Regions from separate parts of the Homo sapiens genome. Here region 2 is linked to region 1. The links are contacts of gene promoters, found by promoter capture Hi-C in human tissues and cell types (Jung and others, 2019). All regions are on one chromosome and are shown on one strand. The core of a region is centred on a gene start or on the middle of the fragment in contact, and the rest is flanking DNA. Distances in the headings are between cores, read along the strand shown. Region 1 holds the start of CKMT2 (creatine kinase, mitochondrial 2). Region 2 overlaps CKMT2-AS1 (CKMT2 antisense RNA 1).

Region 1 (7,287 bases), core at 2,519-5,018:
TTATTCATCTCAGCTGCCATGCAGCATGACATTAACATTAGGATTGATAGCACTAGTCTGATCTGCTCAAGGAAAATAATAGTTCTATTATACTTAATGATGTTGGTTTTTACACAGCTCATTTCATTTTTCACTAGAAAGCCAGTTATGAAAGAGAGCTGGCCTAGGCATCCCGGCCCTGAGTCCTAGGCCCAGTCTCCAACTGGAAAACCTTAGGCTGGTGTTTACACATCCCTGAGCCTCAGTTTCCTCATCTGCAAAACGGTGTGAATAGTAATCCCTGTGCTGCTTATCTCACAGGGCTATTGTGAGGACCAAATGGATTAGACTGTAAACTGCAAAGTGCTGTCCGCACATGAGGTCATCTGATTACTGTCCTCAGATCTCTTTTGTAGAGGATTTCAATGTATTTCTTTATCATTTGAGTGTGTGTGTGATGGACGAATATGTGTGTGAGTTTGAGAAGCATATCGTTCGTGTCCAGTTACTTTGCAAATTTGTGGACATTTGTGATTGGACAGAGGGGTTTGTGCTGTGGCCTAACACTTGCCAAGTGAGGTGTAGGTTATGCCTATATGCAAATTAAACTTCACCTTTCTTGAATATTCAGAAATCTCACTGGTTTCTTCATTTAACTCTTTTTCCCCCCATTTTTCTACATTGTCAACTTAAAACCATGAAATGTATACATTTAGAAAAAATAGAACTTAATTTCTTATAAAGGGTTACAATCTGCAGGCTGGAGCCTCTGGCCAAAGCCAAAAGCAAGCACTTCAGATAAAAAAGGGAGAGGCTGAGATTTATGCCCAACAAGATGAGCCTTACATATACATTTAGTAGGTTATAGGATAATCTTATGAATATTTATGAGAGGCCCTAATGCATGCATAGCCAGTAATCATATATGTTACATGTTACATACAACCCATGTTCACTTTGGGATGGAGACTTAAAATGTAGTAAAATTGGGCTCTATATGTCAAAAGATGGAACACAGGGCACAAAGACGCTTGGTGTGCAATCTCTGTAAACCGGCCAGAACCGGCTGTGGTCTGTGGTCAGTTATGAGGATGGAGTGCTTTGTAAGGCTGAACACTTGTCAGGGGGAAACTGCGTTGAGGGAAGGGGGGGTTCGCCACGTCAGGTTGTCTGTTGAAGTTGAGGAAGAAATCTTCCAGACATAGTTTTTCAGTAACTGGTTTTAGTTTAATTTTAGGAAAGAAAGTCTTGAGGCAGTTATCGAGGTGGGAGAGCGTTGGGTGTGACTGACCTCTTGCCTTGCCAAAGCTGTAGAATCTGGTTTTTAATGTTTCCTGGGGTCTCTTTTTACCACAATGAGTCTGTTTTGTTTTGCTTGGGGGCCTAGGGGCTTTATTTTTATTTTACATCTTCTTCATAGCAGTGAACTCCTTCAGATATATTATTTACTTCTAAATATTACTTCTAAAGTTCAGGGAGAAAAACAGTTTAGAAGAGGCCCTAAAATTCAAAGAATTTGGGGAAAGCTTTGAAATGATACGAAGGATCAACTAATCACACTTTCTTTGCAGTGCTTAGATTCTTCCTGTGACATCCCCAGCCTATATTTGATACCTCCAGGCACAGAGAACTCACTACTACCTGGAACAGCTCAGTCCATTGCACAGCAGCTCAACGCTCCTGAATGGGTGGTGGAGAGAGGAGAAGCCGCCAGGGTAGAGTCCTGGCCTAATAGTCACCAGGCTCCACCTAGGAGGGGCTTCTGAAATAAGACTCCTGTCTACCCCTAAAATAACTGCAGTGGTTATATGGATTACTATATATGAAAATACTTTAACTTCTATGAAGTTGTGGCAACATTTAGAGCTGATGGAATTAAGTTACAGTTGCTGGACACAAGAATAGACTAAGGAAAGGGGTCCCTCCTGCCCAATTCTGAAATGAGCAATCCAGGCTGGTGCGACAGAGGAACCCAGGTTCCTTTCATCCTATTACTTGCTCATCCCACAAGGCGTCATCCTTGCCTTCGAGGTCAAATCTGGGGCCTGCTCTAGCCACACTCCTGCTGGACTCAGGAACAGAAAAGAGAATAAGTCCAGGACATTTTCCTTTAAAGCAAATGATATGGCAGTCGCACACTTCAATTCTGTTCCTGCCCTTATGGCAGAAGCCAGCCACAGGGCAGCCTGGTGTGGCTAGAGCCCCAGAGCTTCAAAAGGAGTTGGTAACGATGAGAAGGGAATAGATGCCATGTGACAGGGATGGCATTTGAAAGATTTCCAGAAAGCCAGAATTTCTACTGTGAGTCCCTTGTAGAGATTTCATCCCCATCACACCACCTTTATAATAAGCTTGAAGAGGACCAGTCCCCCAAAAGAAGGGTGGTACCCTCTTTTCTCAACAATGACCCAATTTTTCTTCTGACCTTACTAACATAAACATTTACTCTATAAAATATAAGGTGTTGAGGTCGGGTGAGTGGAGGGGGCCCTAAATGTTGATTAGGCAATTGGGGAGGAAAAGGAGGTTTTTGCTATAACTGCCATTCTTTAAATCTACAATTCCATGCTCTTTAAAAGCCTTATAATTTTCTGGATCTGGGAGCTGGGCTATTTCAGGGTCAATGGATTTATTTCAGTTGGTGCCTGAACTGACTTGAAACAAGTGTGTGTGGAAAAGAGCTATTTTGAGAAGGAATAAACCGAGACTGCCCTGATGATAGAATATGCAAGCTGGTGGGTCTTGACTCCTTAAAGGATTATGAAATTAATTTGATTGGTCCCAATCTTTATATAACCACCCCAATCAGGAAACTTCCCATCCCGCCAAAAGGCCCCCTCACGTGCTCTCCCTGTCAGTACCCCATGCAAAGGTAAAATAGATGATATTTTTAAACATGGGTCGTGTTTAAAAGAAATGGAAACTCCTTCAGAGAATGAAGGAGAACCACACTGGGTAGAAGGTTATTCCTGGGGCTCCACCCCTTGCTCCATCAAGTCCTCTGAGCATGAGCTGGGCTCTGAGAAGGAAGAGACAGGAACCAATTGGTCATGTCCACGTGGCCTCAGAAGCTGAGTACGTGACGGTCACCAGATGCCTAGGCAGGCTCCCTTGAAATGGCAGGGCTGCTGTCCAAAATCCTGCTGGGTCATTGCTATTTACAGGCAGCCTTCCCGGCGTGCGGTGGATATCCCAAGCGGGGCTATTTTTAAGCAGGGCTATGGCCTGCCGTGGGTTAAGCTGGTGTGGACAGAAAGCGAGATGATCTAGCCATCTACTGCAGGGGGCCTGATCTTGAACAGAAACCTGACTGTAATTGTCCCTGGATCCAGGTCCCAGACAAAGACGCTGGAAGGAGGTCCCTCCAGCCCCTGGCTCAGGGCCCGGTCAGCTGCTGGAGCCAGGCAGCTTGAGACATCCTCCTCTCCGACCTTGGCTTGAGGGGTTCATCCTCCAGAGCTCACCAGGGCCCCAAGGCTGGTACACCTGAGAGAAGAGAGAAACAAATCCCCCAACAGATGTGCAATTTCACCTGCTGGCCCTTCCATTCTGAGATCCAGAGCCCTGGCAAAGGAGCCTCCAGGACCAGGCCTGGGAAGCAAGACTGGCTCCGCCTTTTACGTTTCAGAGAAAGGGCAGGTGCTATAAAGGGCCCAGCGCCCACGGGCCTGCCTTCAAGGGTACAGCTGTGGGGGCCGGTGCGCCCGGAGGTCTACGCTGGGATTGGTGAGGTCCTCTGGCCCCGCCCCGCCAGGGAGGATTTCCAGGCCGGCCCGACCAGCTCGCCCTGCATACACTTCTTGGCTGTGTGCGCTCAGCAGGACGTGGGAGGCTCCGGCTTCAAGGTCGGTGAGTCCGTGAAACTCTGCTTTATTCCTCCAAAGAGGGGTCATGGCTAGAGCCAGTGTGAAGGGCCTTGGAGGAGTGGATGCCGGGCTGTAGACGGGGACCCCGTTAGGACGCTGACTGCGAGGAGGCAATGGTGACTCGCTAAAGCCAGCAGAGCTCCCGCCCTTGGCCGAAGCGACCCCTCCTCCCTGCACACAGGTGGGGGCAGCTCAGCACCAGGAGCAGAACAAATCAGCACGCTGCCTGCAGGGCCTCTTTTTGGTAGTGAATCAGGAATTTTTCTCGATGGAAAAAAAAATCTAAAGGCTGTATTTTGACGCTAAGTTTGGGACAACTTTAAACTTAAAGTGTCTTTCCCTTGTAATTCACAGAGTCTAATCCACTCATTTCTGGGAATGTTTTTCCCCAGCAGTCTCAGTCTCAAAAGACATGTAAATCAGTGACTTGGGATGAACTAACTAGAAAATTAAAATTTTGAGAAGCTATTTGCTCATAAGCCCAATAGCCAGGCCCAGTTTAAACGGGCAAATAGTATTGCTAGAGATTCAGTTTTGCCGTCACTAATACTAACACATTGATAATGAGACAAGTAACCGTCTCCCCTCCCCACCATCCTTACCTTTCCCACCGGAGGTTAATTAAAAAAAAAAAAAAAAAAAAAAAAACCTATGGAATTGGCCCCACGTGTTTCACCTGGGCAGAGGCCTGTTCTTCACTAGCTTGCTTGCTTGGTTGGTTGTCCCGGGGTTAAAATCAGTCCTGTTCTTGCCCCTAGAGTGGTCTGCCTTCAAATGCTCTCCTCCGAATGTGAGGAAGAGTGACATTTGACAAACAGACCAAAACCTTTAGGTCTCCTCAGTGCTGCCCTTTAGACCTTCCAGAAAGTGTTGCCAGGCTCGTGACCCCTCACAGTGTCAGCTGAGTCAAGTGAGGGGCAGTTAGTGGCCCTCAGGACAAGGTTACGCTAGGTACACCAGTGTGCTGTTTCCAGAAGGGCTGCTTTTCCTGTCTACGGCTCTCACATTTTCTCTGTTCTGAACTCGTGTCCTTGGTCTGTTCTCTCTGTCCTCTCATAGAGGCGAGCATGGCCACAGCATGTGGCCAGAGACTTCCTGACAGGCAGGCTCTTCCGGGAGGCTCTTGGCCTTGTTTGGCGGTCTGAGCACTTCACTTCCTCTGCATTGATAGGCACCTTTTCCAAAGACCCCAGACTTTGGAGTTAATCACGCCTGTGGGTTAAGGCACTGTCACAGCAAAGCACAGGAGTGCCACATGCACCCCATGGACTCTGCCAGCCTCATGACCAAATCATATCATTAGGAAATGGGCCATAGGCAGGTCAGTTTTCCTAAGGAAACTGTGGGTTGGGTCGGGGGGAGTACCATACAGAATGGGGAGTCCTGGGGTTTCAGACACAGGAGGGAGACTGACTTTGCCCCTAGCTCAGAGGCCCTGGGCCTCCATCTCTGCCATAGCCTACAGCAGGCTCCATTTGTCTTCCCAAAGGAAGCCACGTAGAGTCTGTGTCAAGCATTCTGGGAGCTCCTGCCCACAGAGCCAGGAATCCAGCAGCAACCCATGCTGAAGGTGACTGCTGGAGGTCACACTAACCCTTGCCAGGAAGCCTCAGAGACTCCCTCCCTTGGGCGGGGAAGAAGGCAGCCCACTTCACAGCACTTCAAAGGACTAGATGGCTCCTAGCTTCCTGTTTTCTTGAAAACAATTTACCCTTGAGGGACAAAGTCTGGTAACGGTCCCATGCCTTCATCACAGGAGGCCTAGGAAAGGCCTCTGTTTTACAGAGTAGGATTCTAAATATCTCCTTCCTGCCTAGGACTGTCTATTTGCTGAGTAGAACAGTAATGCCAAGAGTGCCCATTAAGGTTGGCTGCGTACTAAGTGGTTTTGAGGTAACGCACACCCTTTGCTATCTTAGAACTGGGAGGAGACAGGCATTTTCTGCGGCCTAGGAGCCTGGCATCGTGAGAATTTGTTCAGAGTGTTCTGTGGAGCTGGTCCAAGCCCAAGGACATCCTCTGTTTTGGGGTGGCTCTCTGGATGGAAAGCTGACACGTGGTCCTCCTCCTGCCCTTCCACCTGCCCTCTGGCTGAGGAGTTCAGACACATGGACGCTGTGAATGGCTGGACCAGAAATAAATCTGAGTCAGCAGAAAGGCAGACATGGTCCATCCGGGATGCCCAGGAAGAGCAGGGGGCTCGGGCTGGAGGCAGTGACAGAACCCAAGGCCTCCTCTTCACATTCTAGGATGTCACAGAACCAGAGAAGAGCATTAAGACCAGGATCTGAACTCCCAGTATACCTGCCTGGGACCAAGAAATGTACAGCTTGTGGCCACTTAACAAAAGGGCTTGATGTAGCTGTCGTTGTTTTTTTAATGCGGAGGGCAGTGTAGGAACAAACAGGATATTATTGCTTTTGGCTCTGTCTGGCTGTGCTCTTGCACCTCCCCATCGCTCCAAATCTCCCTGGCTTGGAGCCCAGGTATTCTGCCAATTTTAGCCTAGATGCTGTAAGCAGTGTTTTTCAATTCAGGAGTCATTGTGGTGTTCCAGGTTAGGGAAACTGAGGCAGAAAGCTTCTATGGGGTGAGAGCTGGAGACCACCTTCCTCTTCACACTGGCACAGCATCCCTAGCAAGGCCTGGCAGGCACATTGAGCACTAGAGTCAGAGTGGAGCGGGCAGAGATATCCCTGGCGTCTGGGTTACTTCAGCGGGAGCCTGAGGACAGGGAAAGAGAACAAGTTTATAATCTGCAACTTTAGAAGTCATATGCCCTGAGGTGACAATCCTGTGCCTAGGAGCTGCTGTGTTAAATGCACTTCTACGGTCTTGGGGGTTTGACTGAGTGGAATGATCTGTGGCACCACAGGTTTTAAGCCACAGGGGTGGTTTCCCTCCAATTGCTGGTCAGTGAAGGGCTGTATGTGAGGTGCTGCGGTCTGCAAGGAAGCTGAATCCAGTGCAAAAGACAAACCTGGGTTCAAATCCCAGCTCTACTAGTGTGCTGGCACTGAAACCTGGGGCAGGTCACTTCTCTTGAGCCTCTGTTTCCCCATGCCCAAAATAAAGCATACTTGGCAGGATTGTTACATAGACTGATTGTGTTTGTAAGGTCCCTTACATAATGCATGGCTCATGATAGGAGCTCATAAATGCTCAAAAAGAAGACAGAAGGTTTGACTCAGTCGGTGTATAGGGTTGGAAAGGATATTCCAGGGGAAAGAAAACACTCAAGCAAAGGCTCAGAGGTGGCAAAGTGAAGGACCTGTTCAGTGATGCCAGGAAGTCATTGGAGACACTGTTGGAGGGGTGGAGTCTGGAAGAAGAACTGGGGAGCCCAATTGGTTAAATCCATTTTGTGAACCCCGATGTTGGTTTTCAGAGGATGATCAGTAGATCTGAAAGTATGTGATAGACACCTTTGAAGTCTTGTCCG
Region 2 (7,152 bases), core at 629-3,128, 37 kb after region 1:
ACCAATTTTCAGATTATGTAATAGCACTTAAATAGGATACAAGAATATGCTTTCTCCTCAAGCACTGACAAGCATTTGAGTGATCTCATCCTGTTTGCAGAAGTTGTGATAAGTTTTAATTTTGCCACAAGAAACAAGCACATTGGCAATATTACAGTCAAAATAACACCTTTTATAAGATGAGTCCATTGGAAGAGATAAAGGGACTTTTAATTATTAATTAAAATGCTAATTGAATACCATATCTTCCAGCCAAGGGAGTCATATAGCATGCAAATAGTTCCTGTTTACTAAAGTCTAGTTCAATCAGTATTCATCAAACAGTCATATGAACAGAGCATGGTTCTGAGTCATAGGCCTTTTAAAATTTGCTGCATTCCTTACATCAGAGGCAGATGCAATGAGAAAGCTTTGATGGCTGAAAAATCATTCTGGCTCTCTTCCACAGGGGAAGAGAAACAGGGGTGTTCTCCTTGACTTCTGAGCTTCCACAGTAAGTTGGCTTATGGAGACTGAGCTACTCTCCCCTCAGGCCAAATATCATAAAAGAGCATGTCTGAACGTTCTGAAAGAAGCCAAAATAATTTTTTTTTTTCCTTGAGACAAAGTCTCACTCTGTCACCCAGGCTGATGAAGTGGCACGATCATGGCTCAAACTCCCAAGCTCAAGCGATCCTCCCACCTCAGCCTCCTGAGTAGCTGTGATGACAGGCACACACCACCATGCCCAGCTAATTTTTAATTTTTTTGTGGAGACAGGGTCTTACTATGTTGCCCAGGCTGGTCTTGAACTCTTGGACACAAGCAATCCTCCGGCCTTGGCCTCCCAAAGTGCTGGGATAACAGGCATGAGCCACTGTGCCCAGCCCAAAAAGAAGTTATTTTGAGGTCAAAAAATTTGCATGAAATTCAGGCTCAACCACTAACCAGCTACATGACCAAAGGTAAATTATTTAACTCAATAGTCTTGGTTTCATTTGTAAAATGGAGAGAATTCCTGCCTTATGAAGTTTTTATGATGATTAAATAAGGCAGTGACTTTTTTTTTTTTCCTTTTACTGTAACCTATGGGAAGAAATATATTTTACATTAGAACCCAGTACACAAACAGGCAGGCTGCAGGCTCTGGGAGACAGCCAGAAAACTGTGAGTGCCCAAGGTGTGAAAGTGTGAAAGGGGGATCATTTGCCCCCAAACACACATCTTCATTGGGGAACCTGAAGGTCCAGATCACAGAAGAATTTGACCTTGCCTGGGAGCTGAGACAAATTTAGAGAGCTGAGCCAAATACAGGGGTAGGGGAAGCAACAGGAAGAGCCCTGTGAGTAACTTTCCATCCCCAGGGAAGCCATTTCTGACTCTGTCTCTCAGGTATCCTTGGGGAGGGCTGCCAGTGAAATTGGGGAAAGACCACAAGGAGAAGGAAATTTCCAGCTGAACTTTGTAACAATTTTGACCAAACACAAAGTCTCCTGGATAGAACCTGGGGAGGGGACAAACAGGCAGTGCAGATACAAGCACAGAAGCTGTGGCAGGCAGGGAGGCATGAAATCTGAAAGCCTTGCTTGCTTCCTCAGTCGGGAGGCATGGAGCCTGCGGCAAGTTCTCAGCCCTACTCACCCGCTGCCTGGAAATAAACAGCGCAGCTGGGGATGGGGCAACCGGGCCTCTTGGGTTGCATGGGAGCTGGTAACGCCTGTAACTGCCAGCTTTCCCCCACTTCCCCGGTAACATGCACGACAAAGCAAAGGCAGCCATAATCCTCCTGGAAACATAACTTCATTGGCCTGAGAACCACACCCCCGTACCCCACAGCAGCTGCAGCAACCCCCACCCAAGGAAAGTCTGAGCTCAGACACACCTAACCCTGCCCCCACCTGATGGTCTTTCTCTATCTGCCCTGGTAGCCAAACACAAAGGACATAATCTCTTGGGAGCTCTATGGCCCCGCCCACTGCCTGGTTCTCCCTATACTACTGCAGCTGATGCTCTCTTGAAAGTGCCACCTCCTGGCTAGAGGCCAATCAACACAAAACTAGCACACTAAACAAAAATACAACCAAGGACCCTCACAGAGTCCATTTCACCCCCTGCTACCTCCACCAGAGCAGGTGCTGGTATCCATGGCTGAGAGATCTGAAGACAGATCACATCACAGGACTCTTTGCAGACACTCCCCAGTACCAGGCTAGAGCCTATTAGCTCTGCTGGGTGGCTAGATCCAGAAGAGAAATAACAGTCACTGCAGTTTGCCTCTCAGGAAGCCACATCCCTAAGGGAAGAGGGAGAGCACCACATCAAGGGAGCACCCTGTGGGACAAAAGAATCTGAATAGCAGCCTTCAGCCCCAAATCTTCCCTCTGACATAGTCTACACAAATGAGAAGGAACCAGAAAAACAATCCTGGTAATATGATAAAACAAGGTTCTTAATACTCCCAAAAGATCACACTAGCTCACCAGCAATGAATCCAAACCAAAAAGAAATCTCTGAATTGCCAGAAAAATAATTCAGAAGGTCGATTATTAAGCTACTCAAGGAGACACCAGAGAAAGGTGAATACCAACTTAAAGAAATTTTTAAAATGTTACAGGATATGGATGAGAAAATCTCCAGAGAAGTACCATAAATAAAAAACAATCACAACTCCTGGAAATGAAGGATGCACTTAGAGAAATACAAAATACAATGGAAAGTCTCAGCAATAGAATCAAACAAATAGAAGAAAGAACTTCAGAGCTCAAAGACAAGGCTTTTGAATTAACCCAATCCAACACAGACAAACAAAAGAGAATTTTAAAAAATGAACAAAGCCTCCAAGAAGTTTGGGATTATGTTAAACAACCAAACCTAAGAATACTTGGTATTCCTGAGGAAGAAGATAAATCTAAAAGTTTAGAAAACATATTTGAGGAAATAATCAAGGAAAAACTTCCCCTGCCTTGCTAGAGATCTAGACACCCAAATACAAGAAGCTCAAAGAACACCTGGGAAATTCATTTTAGAAAGATCATTGCCTAGGCACAGAGTCATCAGGTTACCTAAGTCAAGACGAAGGAAGAAATCTTAAGAGCTGTGAGGCAAAAGCATCAGGTAACCTATAAGGGAAAACCTATCAGAGTAGCAGCAAGGGATTGGGGTCCTATCTTTAGCCTCCTTAAACAAAACAATTATCAGCCAAGAATTTTGTATAAGCTTCCTAAATGAAAGACAGTCTTTTTCAAACAAACAAATGCTGAGATAATTTGCCACTACCAACCCAGCACTACAAGAACTGTTAAAAGGAGCTCTAAATCTTGAAGCAAATCCTTGAAATACATCAAAATAGAACCTCCTTAAAGCATAAATTTCACAGGACCTATAAAACAAGATTGCAATGAAAAAAAAAAACAAAAAAACCCAGGTATTCAGGCAACAAATACCACGATGAATAGAATAGTACCTCACATCTCAATACTAACTTTGAATGTAAACGGCCTAAATCCTCCACTTAAAAGATACAGAATGGCAGAATTGTTATGAATTCACCAACCAAGTATCCACTGTCTTCAAGAGATTCACCTAACACATAAGAACTCACATAAACTTAAGGTAAAGGAGTGGGAAAAACATATTCCACGCAAACATCAAAAGCAAGCAGGAGTAGCTATTCTTATATCAGACAAAACAAATTTTAAAGCAACAGCAGTTAAAAAAGACAAAGAGGGACATTATATAATGATAAAAGGACCTGTCCAATAGGAAAATATCACAATTCTAAACATATTTGCACCTAACACTGGAGCTCCCAAATTTATAAAACAATTACTGCTAGACCTAAGAAATGAGATAGACAGCAACATAATAATAGTGGGAGACTTCAATACTCCACAGACAGCACTAGACAGGTCATCAAGATAGAAAGTCAACAAAGAAACAATGTACTTAAGCTATAAACTACAACAAACGGACTTAACAAGATATTTACAGAACATTCTACCCAACAAATATAGAATATACATTCTATTCATCAGCACATGGGATATTCTCCAAGACAGACCATACGATAGGCCACAAAACAAGTCTCAATAAATTTAAGAAAATCGAAATTATATCAAGTACTCTGTCAGACCATAGTGGAATAAAAGTGGAAATCAACTCCAAAAGAAACCCTCAAAACGATGCAAATACATGGAAATTAAATAATCTGCTCCTGGAATGATTCTTGGATCAACAATGAAATCTGAAATCAAGATGAAAATTGAAAAAATCTTTGAACTGAATAATAGTGACACAATCCATCAAAACCTCTGGGATACAGCAAAGGCAGTGCTAAGAGAAAGTTCATACCATTAAATGTCTACATCGAAAAGTCTGAAAGAGCACAAATGGACAATCTCAGGTCACACCTCAAGGAACTAGAGAAACAAGAACAAACCCAAACCCAGCAGAAGAAAAGAAATAACAGAGATCGACCAGGCACAGTGGCTCACACCTGTAGTCCCAGCACTGTGGGAGGCTGAGGTGGGTGGATCATGAGGTCAGGAGTTCGAGACCAGCCTGGCCAACATGGTTAAACTCCAGCTCTGCTAAAAATACAAAACAAACAAACAAACAAAAAACAAAACTAGCCGGGCATGGTGGCAGGCACCTGTAATCCCAGCTACTGGAGAGGCTGAGGCAGGAGAATCGCTTGAACTTGGGAGGCGGAGGTTGCAGTGAGCCAAGATCACGCCATTGCACTCCAGCCCAGGGGACAGTGCAAGGCTCCATCTCAAAGAAAAAAAGAAAAAGAAAAAAAGAAATAACAAAGGTCAGAGCAGAAGTAAATGATACTGAAACAAACAAAAATACATAAAATAAATGAAACAAAAAGCTGTTTCTTTGAAAAAATAAATAAAATTGATAGACCACTAGCAAGACTAACCAAGAAAAGGGGAGAAGATCCAAATAAGCTCCATTAGAAATGAAACAGGAGATATTACAACCAATACCACAGAAATACAAAAGATCATTCAAGGCTACTAGAACACATTTATGTGCGTAAACTAGAAAACCTAGAGGAGATGGATAAGTTCCTGGAAATATACAACCCTCCTAGATTAAACCCGGAAGAAACACAAACTGAACAGACCAACAAAACCAGGACCAGATGGATTCACAGCTGAATTCTATCAGATATTCAAAGAAGGATTGGTACCAATCCTATTGACACTATTCCAAAAGATAGAGAAAGAGAGAATCCTCCGTAAATCTTTCTGTGAAGCCAGTATCACCCTAATACCAAATCCAGGAAAGGACATAACAAAAAAAGAAAACTACAGATCAATTTCCCTGAGGAACACAGATGCAAAAATCCTCAGCAAAATACTAGCTAACCAAATCCAACAGTATATCAAAAAGATAATCCACCATATCAAGTGGGTTTCATACCAAGGATGCAGGGATGGTTTAACATCCACAAGTCAATAAATGTGATACACCACATAAACAGAATTAAAAACAAAAATCACATGATCATCTCAATAGATGCAGAAAAAGCATTTGACAAAATCCAGCATCCTTCTATGATGAAAGCCCTCAGCAAAATTGGCATAGAAGGGACATACCTTAAGGTAATAAAAGCCATCTACTACAAACCCACAACCAGTATTATACTGAAGTGGAAAATGTTGAAAGCATTCCCCCTGGAACAAGACAAGAATGTCCACTTTCACCACTTCTAGTCAACACAGTACTGAAAGTCCTAGCCAGAGCAATCAGACAAGAGAAAAAATAAAGGGCATCCAAATTGGTAAAGAAGAAGTCACACTGTCGCTGTTTGCTGATGATAAGATCATACACCTAGAAAACCCTAAAGAATCCTCCAAAAAGCTCTGGAACTAAAAAATGAATTCAGCGAAGTTTCAGGATACAAAATTAATGTACACAAATCAGTAGCACTGCTATACTGCAACAGTGACCAAACTGACAATCAATCAAGAACTCAACCACTTTCACAATAGCTACACACACACACACACACACACACACACACACACACACCTCAAACAAAAACCACTGAGGAATATACCTAACCAAGGAGGTAAAAGACCTCTACAAGGAAAACTACAAAACACTACTGAAAAAAATCATAGATGACACACACAAATGGAAACACATCCCATGCTCATGGATGTATAGAATCAACATTGTGAAAATGACCATACGGCCAAAAGCAGTCTACAAATTCAATGCAATTCCCATCAAAATACCACCATCATTCTTCACAGAACTAGAAAAAACAAACTTAAAATACATATGGAACCAAAAAGGAGCCCAAATAGCTAAAGCAAGACTAAGCAAAAAGAACAAATCTGGAGACATCACATTACCTGACTTCAAACTATACTATAAGACCATAGTCACCAAAACAGCATGGTACTGGTATCCTCATCTCTTACCTTATACAAAAATCCACTGAAGGTAGATCAAAGACTTAAATCTAAGACCTGAAACCATAAAAATTCTAGAAGATAACACTGGAAAAAACCCTCCTAGACACTGGCTTAGGCAACTACTTTATGACCAAGAACCCAAAAACAAATGCAATAAAAACAAAGATAAATAGATGGAACTTAAACTAAAAAGCTTCTGCACAGCAAAAGAAACAATCAGCAGAGTAAACAGACCTCCCACACTATGGATTGTGGGAGAAAATCTTCACAATCTATAAATCTGACAAAGGACTAATATCCAAAATCTACAAGGAACTCAAATCATGAAGGAAAAAAAAAAAATCCCATCAAAAAGTGGGCTAAGGACAGGAATGGACAATTCTCAAAAGAAGATATACAAATGACCAACAATCATATGAAAACATGCTCAAAATCACTAATGATCAGTGAACTGCAAATCAAAACCACAATGCAACACCACCTTACTCGTGCAAGAATGGCCATAATCAAAAAATAATAGATGTTGGTGTAGATGTGGTGAAAAGAGAACACTTTTACACTGCTGCTGGGAATGTACACTAGTACAACCACTATGGAAAGCTGTGTGGAGATTCCATAAAGAACTACAAGTAGATCTACCATTTGATCCAGGAATCCCACTACAATCCCCCTATTGGGCATCTACCCAGAGGAAAATAAAACATCATACAAACAAGATACTTGCACATGCATGTTT

The links. Contacts are between HindIII fragments. The study calls those that stand out against the background at their distance.
Region 2: a fragment that was not itself captured here is called in contact with the fragment with the promoter of CKMT2 in region 1 in 1 of the 25 tissues and cell types used here (mesenchymal stem cells).

What each region holds. Positions count from the first base shown.
Region 1 is chr5:81,229,554-81,236,840 of GRCh38, forward strand. CKMT2 (creatine kinase, mitochondrial 2) reads left to right here and starts at 3,769. Exons shown (of 10, transcript NM_001099735.2): 1 at 3,769-3,824. RASGRF2 (Ras protein specific guanine nucleotide releasing factor 2) reads left to right here. Exons shown (of 27, transcript NM_006909.3): 27 at 1-609. The HindIII fragment of the contact is 7,118 bases long and covers 1,918-7,287 here.
Region 2 is chr5:81,268,630-81,275,781 of GRCh38, forward strand. The region is part of intron 1 of CKMT2-AS1 (CKMT2 antisense RNA 1); the gene reads right to left. Among named protein-coding and RNA genes, the nearest start is that of CKMT2-AS1, 29 kb to the right of the region's middle. RefSeq lists enhancers at 1-1,023, 1,100-1,652, 1,653-2,203. The HindIII fragment of the contact is 6,048 bases long and covers 1-4,902 here.